4 separate regions of the Homo sapiens genome follow, and all the other regions are linked to region 3. The links are contacts of gene promoters, found by promoter capture Hi-C in blood cells and fetal thymus (Javierre and others, 2016). All regions are on one chromosome and are shown on one strand. Each heading gives the region's core, a stretch centred on a gene start or on the middle of the fragment in contact. The rest is flanking DNA. Distances are from core to core; before and after follow the strand shown. Region 1 overlaps PADI3 (peptidyl arginine deiminase 3). Region 2 overlaps NBPF1 (NBPF member 1). Region 3 holds the start of ATP13A2 (ATPase cation transporting 13A2). Region 4 holds the start of PADI6 (peptidyl arginine deiminase 6).

Region 1 (6,102 bases), core at 608-3,107, 260 kb after region 3:
ACCCCAATTTAGAGATGAGGATGCTGAGACTCAGAAGCCAGGAGACTCCCTGAAGACTGTGTCTGATCTGGGGCCTCCCCTCTCAACCCCAAATCTGGGCCTCCTCCTTCAGCACCTCTGGCCTACATTTCTGTGACTCCCCCACCTCTTGCTAAGTCCATCTGTCCTGAATTCCAGCCCCATGGAGAATGAGCTGCAATATTCCAGGGTATGCTAGGTGCTGTCCACGGGAGATGCCCACGGTTGCCTTCTGAAGTGGGCACCATTGGACATGGGGATGCTGGGGCTCCAGAAGGGAGGGGCTTGTCCAGGGTCACAGGGAGTGATGCTGGGATGGAGGCCAGAACCCTTACCTGCACGACGCCCACATGGCCTTACCCTCCTTGCTTCTCTGGAGCACCTGTTGTGTGTCAGACACCAGCTGGCTATGCCACACTTCATGTTTCTCTGGGCAATTGAGGAAACATGAGTCCAGGAGAGCATAGATGTCTTCATGGTTTGTTCTTGATGGCTTCCAGGGTTTTCACAAAGCTAGGGCTGGGAGACCCAGGTCTTGATACCCACTGACCTGGGGAGGGAGCTGGGCAGCAGAGGAAGGGGCCAGGGGCCAGGACTCCCTTGAGTCACTACCACTCTGTCTGGCTTCACAGACCTGGAAGACATGTCTGTCATGGTCCTGCGGACGCAGGGCCCTGCAGCCCTCTTTGATGACCACAAACTTGTCCTCCATACCTCCAGCTATGATGCCAAACGGGCACAGGTCTTCCACATCTGCGGTGAGTTTGTGCCACTGCCCCTTGCCATCTGTGCCCTGTTGCCAGGTTGCCTACCAGGGAACCTCCTGTTCCTGCCTTGGGCCATGGGCAGGTCCTGCTTACACTCCGGGAGATGCCCTGGTGGGTGGCGGGTCGCAGTAAGAACAGTCAGAAGTGGGGGCTTTGGAACTGATGAACTGGTGCCCCCAGCACAACACCTGGCCTGAGGTCATTTTATTTGATGAATGACCTTTTCAAATACATTTTAAGCATGTGTAGAAATTCTTATCAAAAATTTCAAACATACACAAAAAGCAGTGCTGTGAATCCCCATGTGCCTGTCACTCAGATTAAACAATTATCACTGTTTTGTCTGTCTCGCTGAAGTTTTGTAAAACCAACCCCAAACACCATAGATTTCACCCAATTAATTCAGTTTGTATTCCCCCCAAATATAGATGGCTGTTGTTTTACATAGTCTGCCAAAATCACAAGAAATACAAGTAAAAATCTAAATGCCTTTGAGAAACTAAAAATGTATACAAGTAATAAGATGCTTTTTTTTTTTTTTTTTTTTTTTTTTTGAGACAGAGTCTCGCTCTGTTGCTCAGGCTGGAGTACAGTGGCGTGACCTCGGGTCACTGCAACCTCCACCTCCTGGGTTCTGGCGATTCTCCTGCCTCAGCCTCCCAAGTAGCTGTGACTGCAGGCATGTGCCACCACACCCAGCTAATTTTTTGTATTTTTAGTAGAGACAGGGTTTCATTGTCTTAGCCAGGATGGTCTCAATCTCCTGACCTTGTGATCTGCCCGCCTCGGCCTCCCAAAGTGCTGGGATTATAGGCGTGAGCCACCGTGCCTGGCCGCTTATTTTTTAAATAATCAGACAATATGGAAGTATAGAAAATGAAACCTGAGAGTTCTCTACCCGTCTCTAAATCTGACTTTTTTTTTTTTTTTTTGAGTCAAGGTCTTGCTCTGTTGCCCGGGCTGGAGTGCAGTGGCATGATCTCAGCTCACTGCAGCCTCCACCTTTCAGGCTCAAGCAATCCTTCCACCTTAGCCTCACGAGTAGCTGGGACTACAGGCATGTACCACCACACCCTGCTAATTTTTTTTTTTTTGTAAAGACAGGGTTTCACCATGCTGCCCAGGCTGGTCGTGAACTCCTGGGCTCAAGCAATCCACCCGCTTTGGCCTCTCAAAGTACTAGGATTATAGGCGTGAGACGCCGCACCTGGCCTGAATCTGATTGTCACTGTTAACGAGTTGGGATGTGTGCTTCCCAACTTTATTCTACATGTTCTCCAGCGTGTGTCCATATGCTGCTTTCCAACCGGCTTCTTTCATTAAGTAATAATCCCACACACCTTTTCTGGTATTTATTGAGCTCTACTTCATTCTTTTCCACTGCTGTATAATATTCCTAAGCATAGAGGTGCTGTGACTTACACAGTTCTCTGAACATCATAGTGGTTTGCAGTGTTTTGATTTTATAACAATGCAGGTTGCTTGAGGTCAGGGGCTTTGTTCAAGTCCAGAACCGTGCCCCATGGGTGCACTGTAGTTGCACAGTAAATATTTGATGAATTAATGAATATCGAGCACTCTTGTACAGAAATATTATGTGACTTTGTACCTATTATTGTTTGTTTGTTGTTGTTGTTTTGTTTTTTGTTGGTTTTGGTTTTTTTTGAGATGGATTCTCGCTCCATGCCCAGGCTGGAGTGCAGTGGTGTGATCTTGGCTCACTGCAACCTCCGCCTCCTGGGTTCAAGCAATCCTCCTGCCTAAGCCTCCTGAGTAGCTGGGATTATAGGTGTGCACCACCACCGCCCGGCTAATTTTTGTATTTTTAGTAGAGACAGGGTTTCACTATGTTAGCCAGGCTGGTCTTGAACTCCTAACTTCAGGTGATCCACCGCCTTCGGTCTCCCAAAGTGCTGTGATTACAGACATGAGCCACCGTGCCCAGCCTGTAGATGTATTTTTGTAGGAAAGATACCTAGCAGTGGAATTGCTGGGCTTGGGGTAAACATTACTTTGTTGGATGCTGCCAAATTGTGCTCCAAAAAGGTATGAGCGCCAGTCTTAGAAAGGAAGACCCTTTCCCCCAGCCGTGGCCCCCACTGTGTATTACCTGTCCTCTCCTTTGCCAGTGGAGGTGAAAGGAGGGAGTTGTTGGAGGACTTGGAATTTTTGGTGAGGCTGCAGACCTCTTCCTGTGTCCCTCATACTCATGCTCCCTGGGCCCACAGGGAGTCACAGCCACCCCGTCCCTCCCCTTCCAGGTCCTGAGGATGTGTGTGAGGCCTATAGGCATGTGCTGGGCCAAGATAAGGTGTCCTATGAGGTACCCCGCTTGCATGGGGATGAGGAGCGCTTCTTCGTGGAAGGCCTGTCCTTCCCTGATGCCGGCTTCACAGGACTCATCTCCTTCCATGTCACTCTGCTGGACGACTCCAACGAGGTAGGGACAGAGGGGGTTCAAGAGGAGCTCCACTCGGGACCAGCCTGGGCAACATGGTGAAACCCCATCTCTACAAAAAAAAAAAAAATAGCGAGGTATAGTGGTGTACACCTATAGTCCCAGTTACTTGGGAGGCTGAGGTGGGAGGATCACCTGAACCCCAGGGAGGTTGAGGTTGCAGTGAGCCATGATCACCCCACTGCACTCCACAGCCTGGGCAACAAAGTAAGACCCTGTCTCCAAAAAATAATAATAATAAAGGGCAGTGGGGAGGACTCCATTCCTGGTAAGTCTACCAGGCACCACTGGTGTGAAAGACCCCAGACTTCTTGACCACCCCTCTGGTTCATTTCCATCTTGCAGAGAAGCAAGGGGTTTTCTTATGGACCACAGTGGTGGAATCAGAGTCCCCCCAGGCCTCTGGACTCCAAGTCCAGTGCTCTTTCTCCCCTGGTCTGCCCCTGCAGGATTTCTCGGCATCCCCTATCTTCACTGACACTGTGGTGTTCCGAGTGGCACCCTGGATCATGACGCCCAGCACTCTGCCACCCCTAGAGGTGTATGTGTGCCGGTGAGTCTTGGGGCAGTGGGTGGTCCCTCTGGCCCCCAGGCCCCGGCTCCATCCTGAGCCCCTCTTCCCTGGGCTTGTCCGTAGTGTGAGGAACAACACGTGTTTTGTGGATGCGGTGGCAGAGCTGGCCAGGAAGGCCGGCTGCAAGCTGACCATCTGCCCACAGGCCGAGAACCGCAACGACCGCTGGATCCAGGTAACCACAGCCACTGGGCAGGGCCCAGCAAGGACGCCATCCTGGAGAGAGAGGCCTTCATTTGGGGGCCACCGAGAAACATCCAGGAGGACCTGGGTGCTCCCCAGGGAACTTGCTGCCGTTTCTAATGTGAGACCTAGAGGCTTCTCTCCAGAACCTTCTGGAGACCCACGCTGATCCTGGATTCAACACCCATTCACCCACCGGATCTGGGCTAGGCACTAGGCTAGGCCCACAGGGGTGGCACAGGTGTGAGACACACACTCCCTGCCCTCAACAGCTGAGACCAGTGGTTCTCATCAAGAGGCGATGTGTCCCCAGGAGACGTTTTGCAGTATCTGCAGACAGTGCGCAGGACAAGCCCCCACAATAACATATCATCCAGTCCCACGCCTCAGTAGTGTCGAGGCTGAGAAACCTTGATGTGCAGAATGATTGCTACAAAAATACCTACTCCTACTATCTAGTGTGTAGCTGGGGCAACATGGTGAAACCCTGTCTCTGCAAAAAAGTTAAAAAATTAGCAGGGCATGGTGGCGTGTGTCTGTAGTCCCAGCTACTCTGGAGGCTGAGGTCAGAGGATCACCTGAGTTTAGGAAGGTCAAGGCTGCAGAGAGCTGTGATTGTGCCACTGCACTCCAGCCTCAGCAACAACAACAAAAAAAAAAAAAAAAAAAGAGAGAGAGAGAGAGAGAAAAAGAAATATCTAGGGTGCAGAGGCTATACCAGCAAAGCACCAGTAGGGTTTGGGGGATGCAGCATCACCTCTGCCCAGGGAATCAGTGAAGACCTCCAGGAGGGAGAGCATCTGAGCTGGACCAGATTTGGCAGATGAGGGCACATGACTTCTGCCATTTATGCCCCATTTTCTGCAGGCCAGGCATAGCATCATTTCATCTTCTTGATAACCCCCTGTAAGTCCCCCATAATTCAGGAGCTCTTAGGGGAGCATGACTGGGCCACAGAGCTGGTAAAGGCAGTGCTAGGACTCAGGCTGCCAAGCACCAGGCTGTACAGGTTGGTGGTCCTGGCAGAGACCGAGCATGCGCAAAGGCCCGGGGGTGGGAGGCAGGAGAGAGAACCTTGTGTGTTCTCCTCTGTCAGGGCACTGGTTCTGAGAAAGGCAAGGGTTGAGGTCGGAGACCTTGAATTCCAAGTTAAGGAGCTTTCCTCTTGGCCGGAGGTCAGTCCAGTGAGAGGGTTTGGGGCAGGACTCTGGGGCACGATGGGCTGGGTTTAGAGCCTGGCTGTGCCACCAACTAACTAGCTGTGAGCTTTGGGACAAATATTTTTTAATTTTTATTTATTTTTTTAAATTAATATATTTTGAATTTATTTTTCTTTTTGGAGACAGTGTCTCTCTGTCACCCTGGTTGGAGTGCCATGGCATGATCACAGCTCACTGGCAGCCTGGAACTCCTGGGTTCAAGTGATCCTTCTGCCTCAGTCTCCCGAGTAGCTGAGACCACAGGTGCAGCCACCAGGCTCAGCTAATTTTTTGTAGAGATGGGGTCTTGCCATGTTGCCCAGGGTTGTCTCAAACTCCTGGCCTCAAGCAATCCTCCCGCCTCACCCTCCCAAAGTGCTGGGATTATAGGTGTGAGCCACCGTGCCCGGACTGGATAAATAATTAGACCTCTTAGTTCCTCATTTTCCTCATCTGTCACATGGGATAATTATGGTGCCCACGCCCAGGCATGTCATGAGGATGAATGGAGTTAATGTTTATAAAGAGTTTAGGGCAGGACCTGGATGTGAAGTTCATTCACACTGGGCCATCTTTTCCTCCAGAACCAGAGGGGTCAGGACTGACCTGGGCACATTTATGGATCCAACTCAGGCCACTGTGAGTGCTTCTCTGTGTCCACCTGCCTTGGCCCAGTACTCACAGGGACACCCCCAAGGTCATGTCCATGTTCTCGTTCACCTCCGGCCTCTGTCTTGCTGTGTGACCTTAGACAAGTGCACCCCCTCCTTGAGCCTCCAGCCCCTCCTCCAGTCAGCAGGCACCCTGACCTCGGTCCTGTCCGCCTCCAAGCACAAAACATGCTTGGGCCAGGGGACTTGGTGAGCAGTCTGCCCCACAGGGCTCAGAGCCGAGCCAGCAGGG
Region 2 (6,368 bases), core at 1,089-3,588, 400 kb before region 3:
ACTAAAACCTATGTCCAGAAAATGACTTATACAAGAATGTTCATAGCAGTTTTATTCATAATACAAAAAACTGGAAACATTCAAGTATCTGTCAATACAAGAATGGATCAATAAACTGTGATACACTCATTCCATGGAATGGCTAAAGGAACAAACTGGTGACACACAGAACAACATGGATGAATCTCAAAAACATTTGGAGTGCGATAGAAGCCATACCCAAAAAAGTGTGAGAAAAAAAGATAAATAATAATGGTTCCAAGAAATGCACAGCAGACAGCCCAGAGGCAAAGACCCACAGGACGGCGGGCCGGTCCCAGGCTGTCGATCCTAATTAAGAAACTTCTGCTGGATTTTGCCCAGCTCCATTTCCAAACTATTTTGGGTCAGTGACTTCTTTATCCCTTCCATGTTGCCTCATTTTGAACTAGAATCACTGTAAGTGTTATTCTATGTCTGTCACATCATTCCACAGTAGGGGCAGATAAGCTGTTTAGAATGGCTAAAATTCAAAAAGGTGAACACACCAAATGCTGTCAAAGATGAGGAGCAACCAGAACTTTCCATCGCTAGTGGAAATCAAAAGGGTACAGTCACTTTGGAAAACTTAAGTTCACTCAAAATCCTGCACAGAAGTACTTACAGCAATTTTATTCATCATCGCCAAAACTTGGAAGTGCCCAAGATGTCTTTCACCAAGCGAAAGAATAAACAAACTGTTGTAGCCATACAAGGAAATCTGATTCACTGATTTTAAAAAACAAGTTATCAAGCCATGAAAAGACATGAAGGAACTTAAAGTACATAATGCTAGAAAGAAGCCAGTCTGGAAACCCACATACTGTACCACTCCAACTCTAGGACATTCTTGGAAAGTCAAAAAGATAGAAGTAGTAAAATGGTGAGTGGTTGTCAGGGGTGGAGGAGAGGAGGACGCGTGAAATGGTGAAGCACAGGGAATTTTCAGCAGTGAAACTCTTTCGCATGATGCTGTATTGGGGATTTAGGACATTATGTAATTGCCAAAACCCATAATCTGTGAAACTCAAAGAATGACCTCTAATGTAAACTATGGACTTTAGTTGATAATGACGTATCAACAGTGGTTCATCAATTGTAATGAATGGACCACACTAATACAACATACTAGTAGGGAAAATTGTGTGCTGGAGGACAGGGGAGCCTAGGAGAACTCTCTGTATTATCCACTCAAGTTTTCTGTAAACCTAGAACTGTTCTAAAAAATAATGTCTATTAACTGTTTTTTTAATTAGGATGCAGCAGCCCCATATCAAGGTTTTGGTGGCATCCTGTAATTGTGTGGTTAGTACTTGGCATTGAAGTGCACCAACCTGGAGTCAGAGCAGTTGGAGATTTCAAGGCCTGTGCCATTTACCTCTAACCCTGGGGTGCCCCTGGAATACAGATAGCAGATCGGTTAAGGAGAAGCAGCCTCAGCAATCTAGACAGTGCAGGTTTCTGGTGAGGACAGGTAAAAACCATCTGGGTGGGCAGAACTTGGTGAAGACCAGAAACCACTGAGACTCAGCAGCTGCCGCAGTGGCACCCACAAATCAAAGGAGGGGGCTGGGAAGAGCTAAGGGCTACTGGATGAGCTCTCTGCCTGCAAGACAGAAGCAGATCCAGAGATTTTGGAAAATAATGTAGGTTTCAGTACAGTGTGATCTCTTCAAAAAAGTAGAGAGAATGAAAAGGAAAGAAAAAGAGAGAGCATGAGAGAGAAAGAAGAAGAAAAGAAGAAAGGAAGAAAGGAAAGAAGGGAGGGAAGGAGGGAAGGAGGAAGGAAGGGAGGGATGGAGGGCGGGTGGGAAGGAGGGAAAGAATAAAAAGAGAGAGAAAGAGAGTTGGAGGGAAGTAGGGAAGGAAGGAAGGAAGGAAGGAAATGAACAAATTTACATGAAGATGAGAACAGTGGGGAAACTTACACCACCAATATTTTCCATTAACAGGAACACGCTAAGTAGTTATTAGAGAAAGACACGCTACTGTAAAACAATATACTGTTTCCATGGGGTACAACAACCCCTTCCTCCTCCTCTGAAACACATTCTATCTCTGGCTCACTGTTGCCAGAGACACTGAGTCTTGTCTTTGGATACGTTCTGGTGCCCACAAGAATGAGATGAGACAGTGGATCCCAGAACACCAGGCCACGAACTTCCCTGTTGCTCCTTGTCCACTCCAGAAGCTACCCAGCTGCAGTTGGGGACCTCAGCCCCTGGGTCTGATGTCATCCATTTGCCTTTCTCAATGGACTTCTCTCCTTGCACTGGCTCCTACTCCCCCAGGACCTGTGGGTGACCACATGAGAAGAACACAAACAGGCCATGCCCCTTTCTTTCTCCCCCTCTCAATGCCTGCAGTAGTGGGTTCCATGGGGTAGTGACCTGAGATTTACTCATTGTGGGGCCTCTAGCCCAGAGCAGGGCCTACTACCTCACAGTCACCCCATGAATGCTCAGTGAAAGAAGACGTCCACCACAAGGTCCTGGGGAACCAAGAATTCCACTGTGGCCCATAAATTCTAAGTCTACAGGATTCTGGAATGGGAGATGGGAAAGGCCTTCAAAAGTGGCCACTTTTAACCCATTATACTGGCAACTGAGCCATGTTTCCCCATCCTGGACACATCCAGAGGGCACTGCCTAAAACCAGACACATCTCCCCACCCAGGACAGTGTAGGAGCCTTAGCCTGGGGGATGCAGGTGGACAGGGAGGGGGTGAGCCACCAAAGCTGAAGAGCAGAAAGCAGGTGAAAGGGGACAGCAGGGTGGAAACAGAGAGAAATGGGGGCAGAGAATGGGGGGTGAGAGGGGAAGAGTGAGGAGAGGGATGCAGATCTAGCTAGTAAGGAAAAGTCCTGGAGAGAACACTGTCCTCTCCTGAAGTAAAATCACTTCTACCTGACCACGGCACTGCAGCTCATGGGCAGCACATGCTGTGGATATTTGTTCATTCATTTAACAAATATTTATTTAATATCTGTTGCATGCCAAGCAAGGCCCTGCAATGTTTAGGGACCTTGACATCTTCCCTTCACATCTGAGTCATAATACAAAGAGGACTCTCTGACCCCACTGAGCTGGCAATGCCTCGGGATTTTTACCTGTTGGATCTGGCAGCTCTTGATGTCAGCCCACACCATGTGAGGCTGCTCTTGGTGCACCCAATGGGGAAGTTTCTACATCAGGGCCTCGGAGAATCCACTGGAAGCCCTGGACAGTGGGAGTCAGCGGCATCCCCAGTGTGGAGGCCAAGAGCACACAGTGCTTAAGCTCCAGGCACCCTCAGGAGGACGGCAAGGGACAATTGGCTGGTGAGAGCCCGGGTCACCGGGAACCTTCGCCTGGGTCTAAACAGGATTTGCCTTCAGATTGCCTGTGAGATAAAAGAGAGAAATCAAGGTTAACGTTGAGATTTAGGGCTTCGGTAACTTGAAGGATGGAGCTGCCATTTACGGAGACTGGGAAGACCCAGGGAAGAGCAGATTGAAAGGTGGTGGGAACTAGAGGTGGTTGGGTTTCTGTCATATGTAATCAACAGTCCTGACCAGCCTGGGCAACATAGTAAGACCCCGTCTGGGAAAAGAAAAAAGGAAAAATAAGCTGAGCATGGTGGTGCACACTTGTAGTCTCAGCTACTTGGGAGGCTGAGGCAGGAGGATTCCTTGAGCCTTCAGTTAGCGGTTAGTGAGCTATGATGGCACCACTGTACTCCAGCCTGGGGGGAAAAAAATAAAGAGTCCTGACTAAATACTAGAGTAGCCAGGGAAGTTTTCACAAAGTAAGTAATATTTGAGGCAGATCTTAGTGAACAAGAATTCCATTATTTCTGTTAGGGAATTAAGAGAGTGTGGGTGTCGTTAGTTAATGCTTATTAAAGTAGCTTTGGAATCTCATCTACTGGTCTAGCTGGTCTATCTGTACACGTATATTGTATATGCTGTCTCTCTGAGCTTTCGCTAGGTTATGCTACGGTAACAAAAGCCCCAAAATCTTAGCAGCTACACATACGAAGGTTTATTTTTCATTGACATGTCCTTTTATGGCAGGTTGACTGTGACTCTACTCTATACAAGCTACTTTATTTGTTAGATGGTGAAAACTGTGATACTCGGAGGTTGTTGAATATGGTATTAGTATGTTCATTCATTCATTCATTTAAGAAATATTTATTCAATATCTGTTTCATGCCAGGCAAGGTCAAGTACTGAGAATACACTGGTGAATCAAAGAGACAAAATCTCTAATTGCCAGGAGCTTATATTGAAAATCAGATTAAACACATACAAAATCATCATAATAACAACAATGAATACTATATTCATAAATAATAGCTGTAAGAGATTTTAGTACATCTTTTAAATTAGAAAAATATAAAAATTATTAAAACTAAAATGGCCAGGTGTGATGGCTCATGCCTGTGATCCCAACACTTTGGGATGCCAAGGTGGGAGGATCATTTCAGCCCAGGAGTTTGAAACCAGTCTGGGCACTACAGGAAAACCCTGTCTACAAAAAGGAGAAAATTAGCCGGGCACAGTGGTGCATGCCTGTAGACCCAGCTACTAAGGAGGCTGAGGTGGGAGGAGTGCTTGAGCCTGAGAGATCAAGGCTGCAGAGAGCCATGATCATACCACTGCACTCCAGCCTGGGCGACAGAGCGAGACACTGTCTCAAGAAAAAAAAAAAAATTATTTGATGTAGTCCTAAAACTATTATGTAGAATACTATTGTTTATATCACAGCACGTGAGCCCCTTAAATGGCTTAACACTTATTTAGGTATGATCCATAAAGCTTTTCTGGTAATTAAGTATACTTAAGAACAATTAAGTATAAAAGAGTTACTGCCTTGACAGGAAGATTGTAAAAATTTTAAAAAGACAAATAAATAAAAGAGTAAAAACTGTAGCTCTGTGAGGCTCAAATAACATCTAATTCAAGTCACAATGAACATCTAGCAATCATTCTGAACACCATATAATTCACTTAATACGTTTTGCCTGAACACCCAACACATCTGAATTACCAACACCCATATGTAGCCAAGAAACTGGCAATCATTTATAAATTATCACCTATGACTCCATCTGCTCTACGCACTTATTTTTTAAATTTTATTCATTTATTTATTATTTTTATTTGTTGTAGAGATGGGATCTCACTATGTTACCCAAGTTGGTCCAGAAACAGAAACAGACCCACACTAATTTCATAAATCAGATGACCATACAGTCATTCGATTTATGAAAAAAAGTGCCACATGGTGCGGAAGGAAAAGGATGGTCTTTTCAATAAATGGTGCTGGATCAAGCAGACACATCCATGTAGTAAAAAGTGAATCATAGCCAGGTGGGGTGGCTCACACCTGTAATTCCAGCACTCTGGGAGGCTGAAGCGGGCAGATTACTTGAGCCCAGGAGTTCGAGACCAACCTGGGAAACATGTTGAATCCCCATCTCTACAAAAAATATGAAAATTAGCCAGGCATGGTGGCACATGCCTATAGTCGCAGCTACTCAGGAGGCTGAGGTGGGAGGATCACTTGAGCCAGGAGATGGAGGTTGAGTGAGCTGAGATCCTGCCACCACACTCTAGCCTGGGCAATAATAGACTGAGGCCCTGTCTGAAAAAAAAAAAAAGCAAAAACTAAAATAAAATCGTTATAAGGTTAACACAGAAAAATGTGTTCATACTCTTAGGTTAGGCATTGATTTCTTAAACAGGACACAAAAAACAGTAACCATAAAGGAAAAGATTAATAAAGTATAATTTCATTAAAATGAAGAATCTCAGGCTGGGTGCAGTGGCTCATGCCTGTAATCCCAACCCTTTGGGAGGCCGAGGCAGGTGTATCACTTGAGCCTAGGAATTCCAGACCAGCCTATGCAACGTGGCAAAACCCATCTCTACTAAAAATACAGAAAACAGCTGAGTGTGGTGGTACTCCCCTGTAGGTCCCAGCTACTTGGGGGCTGAGGCAGGGGGATCACCTGAGCCTTGTGAGGTCAAGGTTGCAGTGAGCTGTGATTGTGCCACTGCACTCCAGCCTGGGCGATGGAGTGAGATCCTGTCTCAAAAAGAAAAAAAAAAAAAGAGAATCTCCCTTCATGAAAAAACACCATAAAAGAGTGAAAACGCAAGCTACAGATTGAAAAAAGGGAAATGCAATACATATAAATCCTAGAAAGGAGGCATATCCAGAATAAAGTATTACAAATCAACAGGAAAACAAGCATATCAATGAAAACTGGATAAAAAGATTTAACAGGCACGTCACAAAAGAGGACATATAAATGGCAATAAAAGATACTCAATCTCAATGAAACCACACTGATATATTAC
Region 3 (6,128 bases), core at 3,441-5,940:
AGCCAGTGGATGTTCTGGGGCTCCAGAGCGGGTAGAGCTCACCAGCCCCACCCTTGGACAGCCTCTGTCAGGGTTCATCTACGGTCCCAGACCACCTGGAGCACCTTTTACATATGCAGATGCCAGGGCCCTCCCCAGACTGGCTGGATCAACTCCTCAGGCCGGGGTAGGGATGGTGCTAGGCATCTGTGGTTTCACAAGAGCCTCTGAAAAAGCTCACTAAGCTGGAAAAGCTGGGCGGGTGCGGGGTAGGCTGCTGATTTTCTGGGCTCCCTCCTTCATCCCCCAATCTGAGCCCTTCTAAAATTTTTCCTTTTTTTTTTTTTTTTTTTGAGAGCGAGTCTCGCTCTGTCACCCAGGCTGGAGTGCAGTGGCGCGATCTCGGCTCACTGCAAGCTCTGCCTTCCGGGTTCACACCATTCTCCTGCCTCAGCCTCCCAAGTAGCTGGGACTACAGGCGCCCGCCACCACGCCCGGCTAATTTTTTGTATTTTTAGTAGAGATGGGGTTTCACCGTGTTAGCCAGGATGGTCTCGATCTCCCGACCTCGTGATCCGCCCGCCTCGGCCTCCCAAAGTGCTGGGATTACAGGCGTGAGCCACAGCGCCCGGCGAGCCCTTCTAAAATTTCTACCCAAAGAGTCCAGAGTGCCCCAGGCAGCTGCTGTGGGCACAGCACCCCCAGCCTCTGAGCAGCCCCATCCCCAAGCACTCTGGCTTCAACACTCCTAGAGGGCTCACTGTGCACAGGGTACATGGCTAACGTATCAACCCTGCCAGGTAACCTCGGTTGTGATGTCCTTTCATTCATTCATTCATTCATTTATTTACTTATCACTCTTGTAGCCTCGGCTTCCCAAAGTGCTGGGATTACAGGCGTGAGCCACCATGCCCAGCTTACAGTTTTCGTGTATAAGTCTTTTTTTGAGACAGTCTCTCTCTGTCACCCAGGCTGGAGTGCAGTGTTGCGATCATAGCTCACTGCAGCCTTGACCTCCCAGGCTCAAGCAATTCTCCCACCTCAGCCTCCAAATAGCTGGGACTACAGGCACAGGCCACCATGCCCAGCTAATTTTTTTTGTAGAGACAGGGTTTTGTCTTTTTGCCCATCATTTGTTCCTAAGAATTTCTTTTTTGATGCTGTGTTTCATACAGCAAGTGCCTTTGCCTCTCTGGGCTTCCATTTCTCATCTCTAGGATGATAGTCCCGAAGCATCCAGCACACAGGGAGGTAGAAGCATTTGAAGTTCCTGGGGGGGTTGCGTGGACAGGTGGGCAGGACCCGGCTCCCAGGTCAGGGGGGCGTGGCTTCTGCTTATCCATTTCCCAGGCTCTCTTCTCCTTTCACATCACCCTGTCTGAAGCCCTGGCTGTCCCACGGCTCCCTAGGCCCATTCAACAGTTGCTCCTTGTACCTTAAAACCCTCAGGCCGGCCGTGCGCAGTGGCTCACGCCTGTAATCCCAGCCCTTTGGGAGCCCAAGGGGGGCGGATCACGAGGTCAGGAGGTGGAGACTAGCTGAGACCATCCTGGCTAACACGGTGAAACCCTGTCTCTACTAAAAATATAAAAACCAAATTAGCCGGGCGTGGTGGCAGGCGCCTGTAGTCCCAGCTACTTGGGAGGCTGAGGCGGGAGAATGGTGTGAACCCAGAAGGTGGAGCTTGCAGTGAGCTGAGATCACGCCACTGCACTCCAGCCAGGGTGACAGAGCAAGACTCAAAAAAAAAAAAAAAAACCCTCAGGCCAACAGCCCAGCGGGCTCAGGGATGATGGGAAAGGAGCCATCCCTGCGGTGCTGATTTGATTTCCTCCCGCACCAACCCACAAGGTGGGCTCTCTTACCCAGTTTGACAAACGAGAGCACTGAGCCTCTGGGGCAGTTGCCCTCAGACTTGTCTCAAAGCTGGAACAGGGCTGGCCTTACTCCCAGGTCCTCTCTGCCCAGCACATCTACTCCTGACATTCCCCTCAGCATCAGGCTCAGATGGGTGTCACTGCCCTTACTGCTCACAGTACCTGCCATGTGCTCAGGGGTCAGGAAACACTGATTGACCGACTGACTGAATGAATGAATGTCTGTCTCTTGGACACAACAGAGCTTGAAGGCAAAGGTGCTGGGAGTTGGGGGGAGGGGCTTGAGCCTCTTCCTTTTTTTTTTTTTTTTTTTTTTTAAAAGAGACAGGGTCTCACTCTGTCACCCAGGCTGGAGCACAGTGGCATGATCCTAGCTCACTGGAGCCTTGACCTCCTAGGCTAAAGGAGGTACTCTTGCCTCTGCCTCCCAAGTAGCTGGCACTACAGGCAGGTGCCACTGCACCAGGCTAATTTTTTTTTAGTAGGGACAGGGTCTCATTTTGTTGCCCAGGCTGATCTTGAACTCCCGGCCTCATGCTGATCCTCCTACCTCAGCCTCCCAAAGTGCTGGGATTACAGGTGTGAGCCACCACACCCGGCCTCAAGACTCTTTATGAAGAAAAGGTTCTTCAAAAAGAGGGCAGAGTCCCCAGTATGTAAACAGCGGTCCCCCTGGGAAGTTCTTCCTCATGGCAATCGTATGACTGTCACTTCACAATGACACTCTCTCAGTCAACCTTGGCAAAGAGGAAAAGGGGAGTGGAACTTGAGGGAGGAAGTCACAGCTGTGGAAACCTCCAGAGCCCCTCCCTGCAGGGATCAAGCCCAGGGCACTCTCTCCTGCAGTACATCTGTTTATCCCCAGCCACAGCCCAGTCTCCCCAGGGCTTCTGTGGGCTCAGACCAGCCCAGAACAGGCACCCACAGGCTGTGTGGGGGGGCGAGAGCACCTTCATGATGGCATTGCTCTTTTTTTTGAGATGGAGTCTTCCCCCCCCGTTCCCCCCTTCCCCCCTGCCCGTCTCCCAGGCTGGAGTGCAGTGGAGAGATCTCAGCTCACTGCACCCTCCACCTCCCAGGTTCAAGCAATTCTCCTGCCTCAGTTCCTGAAGTAGCTGAGACTACAGGCACATGCCACCACACTCAGCTAATTTTTGTATTTTTAGTAGAGACGGGGTTTCCCCATGTTGGCCAGACTGGTCTTGAACTCCTGACCTCAAGTAATCCGCCTGCCTCAGGCTCCCAAAGTGCTGGGATTACAGGCGTGAGCCACCACGCCTGGCCTGTCATTGCTCTTCTGATGAACAGCAGCTCCCATGGAGTGCTCACCATGCCCTGCGGAAGCCCTTCAGTGTGCTAACTCAATGAAGCTTCACACACAACCCTCTGGGGTAGTGACTATTATTATCCCCATTGTACACCTGGGGAAACTGAGGAACAGCATGTGAATCCCTTGTCCAGGGTCATAGAGCTTGAAAGGGGAGAAGCTGGAAATGAGTGTGTCTGAATGGGCACATTCTTTCCCACAGCCATTCCATGAAAAGTACAGATTAGGATTCCCATTTAAAACGAGGCCCAGAGGAGTAGATTGACAAGCACAAAGTCACACAGCTATGAGGGGCCAAGACTGGACTTGAACCTCGTCTGAGGTCACAGCTCGGGGCAGTGTCACCAGCACTGTGGATCAGAGGGGCTAGAGCCATTTGGGACCTCTTATTTCCTGCGGAAGCCTTGGCTTCCTGCTGGTGACCTGGCAGCGGCCCAGGGCGGCTGCCTCCTCCCTGGCTGTGGTTCCCGGCGGCGGGGAGCTCCTGTCTTCTGCCAGGCTGAGGCGGGAGTGTGTGTGAACCATCTTCCCATCTTTGGATCTGGATTCTAGGGGCTGTCTTTCCTCATTCCTTCCCCTCCCTCGCCGGGGGGTGCACTCTAGGCTGTGGGGCTGGGGGCTGAGTGACAGACACTGAGATGAGACCTTTCTGGATAGGGGAGGAGGACTGGCCCCATTCCCGGCAGGTGGGATTTAAATTAGACCCTGGAGGAGTGGGCGTAGGACATCTGGCCAGGGATGGGTTGCATGGAGGGTGTGGCCCTTGGCCCTGGGTGTGACGGGTTTTCTCTGGGGTCTGAGGCAGGAGGTCAGGAGTGGCGCTGTGGCCCAGGACATCTACCCAGGAAATGGAGTCCCGACTCCCCCAACGCCATTCATTCATTCATTCAGCCCAGAGGGGTTGCCCAGAGGCCCGAGGATGCAGCCGTCTCCCCCACCTGGACATCCGTCACTCGGGGTGGGATCCGATTAAGTGGGCGTGGGGTGGCCTCCCCGTCCCCGCACGGCCCCAGGACCCTCTTGCACAAGCGCCCGGCTTCCAATCCCGCGGCTGAGGGGTGCAGGGGAGGGGAGGGACCGGCTGCGAGCGGCGGCGCCATCCCCAGCCCCGGCGTCTCTGGGAAGAAACCGGGGCCGAGTCCCCGTCAAAAGGGAGGGGACGGGCCAGGATCCCCAACCAGGTCCCGCTTCCTGGGCTCGCGACCCCGCGGTGGGGGGCGTCGCCTCCCCTCTCCCTCCAAGGGGTGACGACAACTGGCGGGCCGGGGACCGCGCCGGGCTCGGGGCCGACCCGGACTCCGCACTCACCTGCGCTCATGCCGGCTCCTCGCGCTCATCGCCGGCCCCGGCGCTGCGGCCCTCGGCCTGGGCCCCGGCGTGCGCAAGGCCCTGGGCGGGGGCGCGGTCCGGACGGCCCGGGGCGAGGGGCGCTGGGCTAGCGCGGGGCTGGAGCAGGGCTGACGCGGGCGGGGCACCTGGGCCACCAGGCTCGGCGCGGCTCCGACACTGCCGCAGTCCCTCCGTGCGCGCCGCAAGCCCCGCCCGGCCCTCTGCGGCCCTCGCAGCGCCCGCGCCGGGGCTGCCGGGACTTGTAGTCCCCGCCTGCTCCTCCGCACACACCGGGGGCGGGGCGACCGGAGACACACACCTCACGGAGGTAGCCCCCGCCAGCACGTCCCAGTGGTTAGGGACTGTGCGTGCTGGTCCAGCTCTCCATGTCTTCCAGGCCGCGCGACCGTGAGCAAGTCACTGATCCTCTCTGGCCCTCTTTTCCCAACCTGTAGGATAGCAATGCCTGCTTCACAGAGAACTGCTGCGAGGATCACACAAGAAAATGCTTGTCAACTGGGCGTGGTGGCGCATGCCTGTAATCCCAGCTACTCGGAGACTAAGCCAGGAGAATCGCTTGAACCCAGGAGGCGGAGGTTGCTGTGAGCCGGGATCATGCCATTGCACTCCAGCATGGGCAAAAAGAGCGAAACTCTGTCTCAAAAAAAAAAAAAAAAGAAAATGCGTATCAAGCACTTGAGACAGTGCCTGGCGCTGCTTGATGAATGCAAAGAAGGAAGACACACCTGCCCAGAGATTCACAGGGTCAGATGTGGGCCCACAGAGACCCAGGGAGAGTCTGCCATGATGCACTGGAGGCCTTGAAATGCCAGAGAAAGAGAAGCCTCACAGCGTGACCTGCAGACACACCTGCACTGGGGGGATTCATGAAGACCCCTGAAAGGCACCAGAGATGTCTTACCTGCGTGCAGCATTTATCCTGCTACCCCATAGTGACCGGCACAGGCATAGTGTTCCCTGTCTCCAGGACCTCTGGACAGAGGAGCTCCAAAGGGGAGAGTGGATCTGTGAGATCCTAGGGCAAACAAGGGAAGGTTCACGTTAGGGCCAAGGATAGACGTGGGCAGGATCACTGGTCATTTGTCCAGTATGAATTTATGGAGTGCCAGCACCACTGTGGGAGCCAGGAACGTGAGAGTGAACAAAACAGAGATGCCCCTGTCCCTGCGGAGACTGCTGTCTACTGGGAAGTAGCCCTAGTCAAGGAAAGGAAAACTCCAACGATCCCTATTGTGGAAGGGGCTGGAAGGAGACACAGCTGTGATGGTGGTGAGGGTGTGGGTAGGGGATAGACCCCAGGAGGGAAAGCAGCACCTGATTCATAGCAAGATCCCAGTGAACATTTGGTACAGGAACACACGTTGGCAGGACTTGCTGGTGGATAGGATGTGGGGGTGCAGGAATGTGTGGAATTCAAGATGCTCCCCAGGGTTTTGGCCTGAGCAGCTGGGTGCCAGTGGAGCCATTTACTCAGCTGGGGCAGGCTGCCCGAGCCAACCAGTTGCGGGTCATTCCTGTTGACCACCTGGGCCATGGGACTGGCTTCCTTGGGTCAGGTGACAAGAGTTCTTTCATCTTCCGGTGACACTTCCAGG
Region 4 (5,950 bases), core at 2,277-4,776, 360 kb after region 3:
AGGTGATCCACCTGCCTTGGCCTCCCAAAGTGCTGGGATTACAGGCCTGAGCCACCGTGCCCGGCTGGGTTATTATCTTCTTAGGGGGAGGACAAGGAGGTGATTTAGTCATTTGCTCCACAATAACTTGTTGAGTACCTACTATGTCTGGAGCTGTTTTGCAGGTGCTGGGGATTCAGTGGTGAATAAGAAGCCCCTGGAGGCGAGCAGGACGTGCTCTGGGTCTGAGTCACTTTCATCTCTGTCCACGAGGCTGGGTGAGGAGCCTTCCTCACTGTGCTCTGTAGAGCCCTGGCACAAGGCAGGGCTGCCCCAGGGTGGGGAACGTCAGAGCTTCCAGGCTGCCTTCCTCCAGACCCCAGAGCCTGGACTGGGCCTCAGCGACCCCTCCCCAGTCAACCCGTCTTCTCCCTCCAGCTGCCTCTGGCCGCTTGTGCGTGAGGGTGGGTGAGCCCTTTGGGATGAGTCTCATCAGAGCCTCTGCACGCTGAGTGCTTCCTGCCTGCTTAATTTTGCCACTTTCAATCCAACCAGAGGGGCATTTTGGGTCTTGCTGACCAACCCCCTGCCTCCAAGAGCAACTAAAACAGAGACATCCTTGAGAGTTGTGTTGAGTGCTTAAAACCTCCAGGGAGGGAATTTTTTACTGCAACTTGCAAATTTAGCCAGCCTGGCTGACCGAACAGGCTTCACTCAGTACCTCATCTCCACCTCCTATGCTGGGTACACCTGGGTGCATATTAGAGCAAAGGCTGAAAACAAATGTTTATATTACAGTACAACCCTATGTAAAATACACAGCTGTACAAAGGGGTAAGGCTGCTTTTTACGTACTGATACAAAGAACTTCTCTCCAGTATAACTATGAAGTGAAAGAGGCAAGGTATGGAATACTGGGTGGCACATACTACCGTTTATATAAGAAGACAGTAGTAGGAGGAGAGAAGAAAAGAGCAAAAGCGCCCCGGACATAGTAGGTGTTCAGCAATTCTAGTGGAGCAAATGACTAAATGACCTCCTTGTCCTTCCTCAAAAAAGATAACCCAATGGGCTTCCAGGGGCATCTCCACTGAACTGAAAAGTTTGTAATTGTAACCAAGCAGCTTAACTTTGAGCACATTTTACAACTTTTCTCTTTAGTCTCGAGATGTAACCTCGAAGGAACCTGCAGAAGCCTTTTTCCCTTAACCTTAAAATAGACTCCACGTCCTTCCCTTTCTCACCATAAAGCCCCTTCAAATTTATCTAACTGTATGCTAGTATTGGAGGAGGAAGAGAAGAAGAAAAGGATACACACACATATTTACTTGGTCATGCATAACATTTATTTGGAAAGACATATAAGAAACGGGTAACACTGTCACTACCTCCACCTGCAGGTGGGTAAGGCACAGGGCAGGAGGGAGACTCTGAACTTGGAATCATGTGACTGTGGTACCTATTCAGGAGTAAGCATGACCCAGCCTGGGCAACATAACAAGACCCCATCTCTGCGGAAAAATGTAAAACCATTAGCTGGGCATGGTGGTGCACATCTGTAGTCCCAGCTGCTCAGGAGGCTGAGGTGGGAAGACCACTTGAGCCTGGGAGGTCAAGGCTGTGAACCATGATCACGCCACTTCACTCCAGCCTGGGTAACGGAGTGAGACCCTGTCTCAAAAACAACAACAAAAAAAAACTCAACCCAAGCTTAAGACATGAAATGAACACAATTTTAAAGTCAGTTATGTAAGTTCCTTGTGCCAGAGAAGGGTTCCTATTTCTTTGCTCTGTGGGCTCCGCTGAGATGAGTAGCAGCTGATGACCCTGGCTTGATGTATTCATTCCACTAACACTTGCTGTGCCCCCACCCCCACCGACACAGCTGTAAGCAAAGAGCTCACCTTAATCACTGGGGGTTGGGATGCAGGTTCCTGGACCACACCCTAGACCTTCTGGGCCCAGGAATTTGCAATGTTAACAAGCACCCTTGATAATTTTTGAAACCACCAGAGGGTTAATAACCACCTAGTCTAGGCAGGCGCTGTGGCTCACGCCTGTAATCCCAGCACTTTGGCAGGTCGAGATAGGAGGATTTCTGGGATCAAGAAGTTCGAGACTAGCCTGGGCAACATGGCAAAACCCGGTCTCTACAAAAAATACAAAAATCAGCTGGACATGGTGGTGCACACCTGTAGTCCCAGCTACTTGGGAGGCTGAGATGGATCACTGGAGCCAGGTAGGTTGAGGCTGCAGTGAGCTATGATTGCGCCACTGCACTCTAGCATGGGTAGAGACCCTGTCTCAAAAACAAAACCAAACCACCAGTCCAGCACTTTGCCGAGCTCCTTCGTCAATTTCCAGGAGACACACACCCTAGAACTGAGACCCCAGAGCCTGGGCATGCTGCCACACATTGCCATCCTGACTGCTACCATCAACTCCTCCCAACTGCCCTCTGCAGGTATTTGCCCCGACAGCTTCCAGCTGAGTCCTCCAGCAACATGGCCAAGTTGATCACTCCAAGGCACCGACTTCCCAGAGCCCCTCCTCTTCCCAGCTGAAGGCCACAGATGCCTAAGCAACCGGCCTCAGACTCCCCTGGCCTGCAGCTCTGCAGGCACGAGGTGCCTGATAAATTGGTGATGAAGGGGTTCTGATGCCACCTGCTCCCCAGACTATCAGCCACCAGGAAGCTCTTAGAGGGAAAATCAGTGACACCTGGGCAGCTGCTGACCCCTCCCCTTCTTAACAAGGGGGTGGCCTGCACAGGCCTGGACTGTATAACAGGGAAGGGCAGGGTGAGCCCTGGGGCGTCTGAGGCTGCTGTGCTGAGTGAGGGCTGCGGTGCAGGCCTGAGGATGGTCAGCGTGGAGGGCCGAGCCATGTCCTTCCAGAGTATCATCCACCTGTCCCTGGACAGCCCTGTCCATGCCGTTTGTGTGTTGGGCACAGAAATCTGCTTGGATCTCAGCGGGTGAGATGCTGGGAGCTCTGCCAGAGGTGGCAGGCAGACAGGCAGGCAGGCCTGGGACCCAGTCCCCTTGATCTGGGAGTTGGGGGTTACTTCTCTAGCCTCACTATCCTGCCCCATCTTGGGAAGCCTTGGGTCTCTAGTGGGGGGCCTCCCAGTTCCAACCACGCAGAATTCTGACTTAAATCCTGCCTCTGCCCTGTAGCAGCTGCCATGGACTCTTAGTGAGGCAAGGGCCTTGGCCTCTCTGTTCCCCTATCTGTGAAACCATGGGGACGCTGGCCTCGGGGGGCTGTGAGGAGCAGGCCAGGGAGACTGCTAGATGCTGGAGCCTGCAGGTGGAGGTGACTCAGCAGGGTCACAGTACAACTTCCTGAGTCGCTTGCCCTGATCTTTTTCTTTATGGGGATCCTTTGTGGCTCCCCCCTTCTTGGGAATTGGGTGCTTATTACTAAGATGTAGCTGTGGTAACTTCTGCAGTGTCGGTAGCGGGATGGGGTTTGGGCTGGAGCCCGTCGGAGAGCAAACACAGGGGTCCTTTGGGAGGGGGTGGGTAGGAATAAGGACCCCAGACCACTCTGCCTCAACACCCTAAGGAGAATGAGGATTCGGGAGCCGTCCCCTCCCCCATGCCAGTCATCTCCTAGGCTGAGAAGGTGTTTGTGCCCTGACGCGTGTCTCTTACCGGGCAAACCAGGTGTGCCCCCCAGAAGTGCCAGTGCTTCACCATCCATGGCTCTGGGAGGGTCTTGATCGATGTGGCCAACACGGTGATTTCTGAGAAGGAGGACGCCACCATCTGGTGGCCCCTGTCTGATCCCACGTACGCCACAGTGAAGATGACATCGCCCAGCCCTTCCGTGGATGCGGATAAGGTAAGCCTCAGGGGAAGAGGTGAGGGGCATCTCCCGGGGTGGGACCTAGCACAGCCACTGGGGCTTCCTCCTGGCTGCAGACGTGACTCGAGCCTGGGAAACACGTTGTTTTGCACGTCTGATCTCATCCAGTGTCTGCAACAGACCAGTGGTGTGGGCACTCCATGACCCCATTTTACAAAGAAACAGAGGCACCTAGCGAAGGTGCCCTGCCAAGTCAGCAACCAGCAGGACTGGGATTTATTTTTTATTTTCATTTATTTATTATTATTTTTTTTTTTGAGTCTCACGCTCATTGCCCAGACTGGGGTGCAATGGCACAATCTCAGCTCACTGCAACCTCCACTTCCCGGGTTCAAGCAATTCTCCTGCCTCAGCTTCCCGAGTAGCTGGGACTACAGGCACCCACCACCATGCCCGGCTAATTTTGTATTTTTAGTATGAGACAGGGTTTCACTATGTTGGCCAGGCTGGTCTCAAACTCCTGACTTCAAGTGATCTACCTGCCTCCACCTCCCAAAGTGCTGGGATTACAGGCATGAGCCACCACACCTGGCCTACCATCACTTTACATATGAGGAAACTAAGGCACAGAGTGCTGTGTCTAAACCTAAGTAGCCTACCTAGAGTGGGATAGACCCAGGATTTGAGCTTGAGCCCAAGGGTGTATTCTCCCCTGGGTAAGCTGTCTCCCTAATGGGGTGCCTATGTTGGGGAGGTTCTCCTGTGGTAGAAGCAGGTGGCTCATTCAGGGCAGGAGTGTTCAACCTTGGTTGCAGGTGAGAACCACTGGGGAGCTAATAACATCAATACCCAGGCCACACCCCCTCTACCAATTAAACCTGAGGTACCAATGGAACCTCAGGGCTAGGATCCTGGCCGCTGGTTTAAAGCTCTCCAGGTGCACCCAGTGCGGGGCTGGGGGTGAGAACCATGATGGAGCAGTTCAGGACTGGGAGAGCTCTCCCTCCCTCCCCCCACACCCTACAGGACCTACTGGAGATGTCTGCTGCAGAGGGGTAGGTACACACACCCACCTGCGCTGTGTGCCCAGGGCAGGCAACTCCCTGAGAGGCAAGTAGTGGACTTAGGTAGGAACTGAGTGTCTCTGGCCAGGTGTGGTGGCTCATGCCTGTAATCCCAGCACTTTGGAAGGCTGAGATGGGCAGATCACCTGAGGTCGGGAGTTTGAGACCAGCCTGGCCAACATGGTGAAACGCTGTCTCTACTAAAAATACAAAAATTAGCCAGGTGTGGTGGCAGGTGCCTGTAATCTCAGGTTCTCAGGAGGCTGAGGCTGGAGAATCGCTTGAACCCAGGAGGTGGAGGTTGTAGTAAGCTGAGATTGTCCCACTGCATTACAGCCTGGGCAACAAGAACAAAACTCCATCGCAAAAAAAGGTATCTCAGATAAGAATGGAGGCCACGGTGGGTGCCAGTGGAACTCCAGACTACCTGAGAACCATTCTCTGCCCAGGGCTCGGCCTCCAGGACCCTCAGGAGTGGCCAACAAAGAACCTTGAACTTAGAGGACTAAAGCTTCTATTTAAGGATGGGGTGGATCTGTCACATGCTCTGGCCAATGGTTGGGTCTCTGGTTCATGACCAAGACCTTGTGGTCAGGGTCAGTGGCTGGAGGGCAGGTCTCTTTCTAAAAGCATAAAGTAGAGGCTGGTGTGGGACACAGTCCCACAGTTGGGACTGAGTCCCAACGCTGCTTCTTCACCTGGGTGTCCTTCTTAGTGAGCAGCTTAAGCCACCAGAGGCCTGTTTCCCCACCGTGCACCTTATGGAGTAGGACATGGGACCCCAGGAGAGTGGGTTTAGCAGGGAGGATGTATAGTGTGGTTTCAAGCTTGGGCTCTAGAGCCAGGCAGCCTGTTTCTTAAATCCCTTTGGGATAAGTCCCTTGATCACCCCGCCATCAGGGATACAGCTCTCACGTGGACAGGTGGTTTCAAGCCTGGCTCTCGACAAGGTTAGGGTTGGGGGTCATGGCAGGTTCTAAGTCCTTAGGGGACTGACTCAGCCCTAAGCGCAGGGCTGTGGCCCCATACCAGCTCATAGGTGAGACTTCAGAAGCCATAACACAAGACCAAGATCCCACGCCTAGACTCGGCAC

What was found. The method cuts DNA at HindIII sites, captures the fragments that hold promoters and counts their contacts. A CHiCAGO score of 5 or more calls a contact.
Region 1: a fragment that was not itself captured here is called in contact with the fragment with the promoter of ATP13A2 in region 3 in 1 of 17 cell types (neutrophils); the score reaches 5.4 in neutrophils.
Region 2: a contact is called between a fragment that was not itself captured here and the fragment with the promoter of ATP13A2 in region 3, in 4 of 17 cell types (naive CD4 T cells, fetal thymus, non-activated CD4 T cells and 1 more). The highest score is 8.1, in naive CD4 T cells.
Region 4: a contact is called between a fragment that was not itself captured here and the fragment with the promoter of ATP13A2 in region 3, in 1 of 17 cell types (neutrophils). The highest score is 6.2, in neutrophils.

The regions. Positions count from the first base shown.
Region 1 is chr1:17,267,187-17,273,288 of GRCh38, forward strand. It overlaps PADI3 (peptidyl arginine deiminase 3), which reads left to right. Exons shown (of 16, transcript NM_016233.2): 6 at 651-776; 7 at 3,047-3,225; 8 at 3,693-3,796; 9 at 3,881-3,992. Among named protein-coding and RNA genes, the nearest start is that of MIR3972, 7.7 kb to the right of the region's middle. RefSeq lists a silencer at 3,511-3,754. The HindIII fragment of the contact is 9,501 bases long and covers 1-6,102 here.
Region 2 is chr1:16,605,380-16,611,747 of GRCh38, forward strand. It overlaps NBPF1 (NBPF member 1), which reads right to left. Exons shown (of 18, transcript NM_001405701.2): 2 at 3,129-3,400. Among named protein-coding and RNA genes, the nearest start is that of NBPF1, 5.0 kb to the right of the region's middle. RefSeq lists enhancers at 1,891-2,392, 2,393-2,892. The HindIII fragment of the contact is 4,959 bases long and covers 1-4,818 here.
Region 3 is chr1:17,007,238-17,013,365 of GRCh38, forward strand. It overlaps ATP13A2 (ATPase cation transporting 13A2), which reads right to left and starts at 4,691. Exons shown (of 29, transcript NM_022089.4): 1 at 4,492-4,691. The coding sequence starts at 4,501. RefSeq lists enhancers at 2,943-3,022, 3,786-3,835 and a silencer at 4,326-4,855. The HindIII fragment of the contact is 3,526 bases long and covers 3,225-6,128 here.
Region 4 is chr1:17,369,406-17,375,355 of GRCh38, forward strand. It overlaps PADI6 (peptidyl arginine deiminase 6), which reads left to right and starts at 2,791. Exons shown (of 16, transcript NM_207421.4): 1 at 2,791-2,956; 2 at 3,651-3,828. The coding sequence starts at 2,841. The HindIII fragment of the contact is 3,678 bases long and covers 1,688-5,365 here.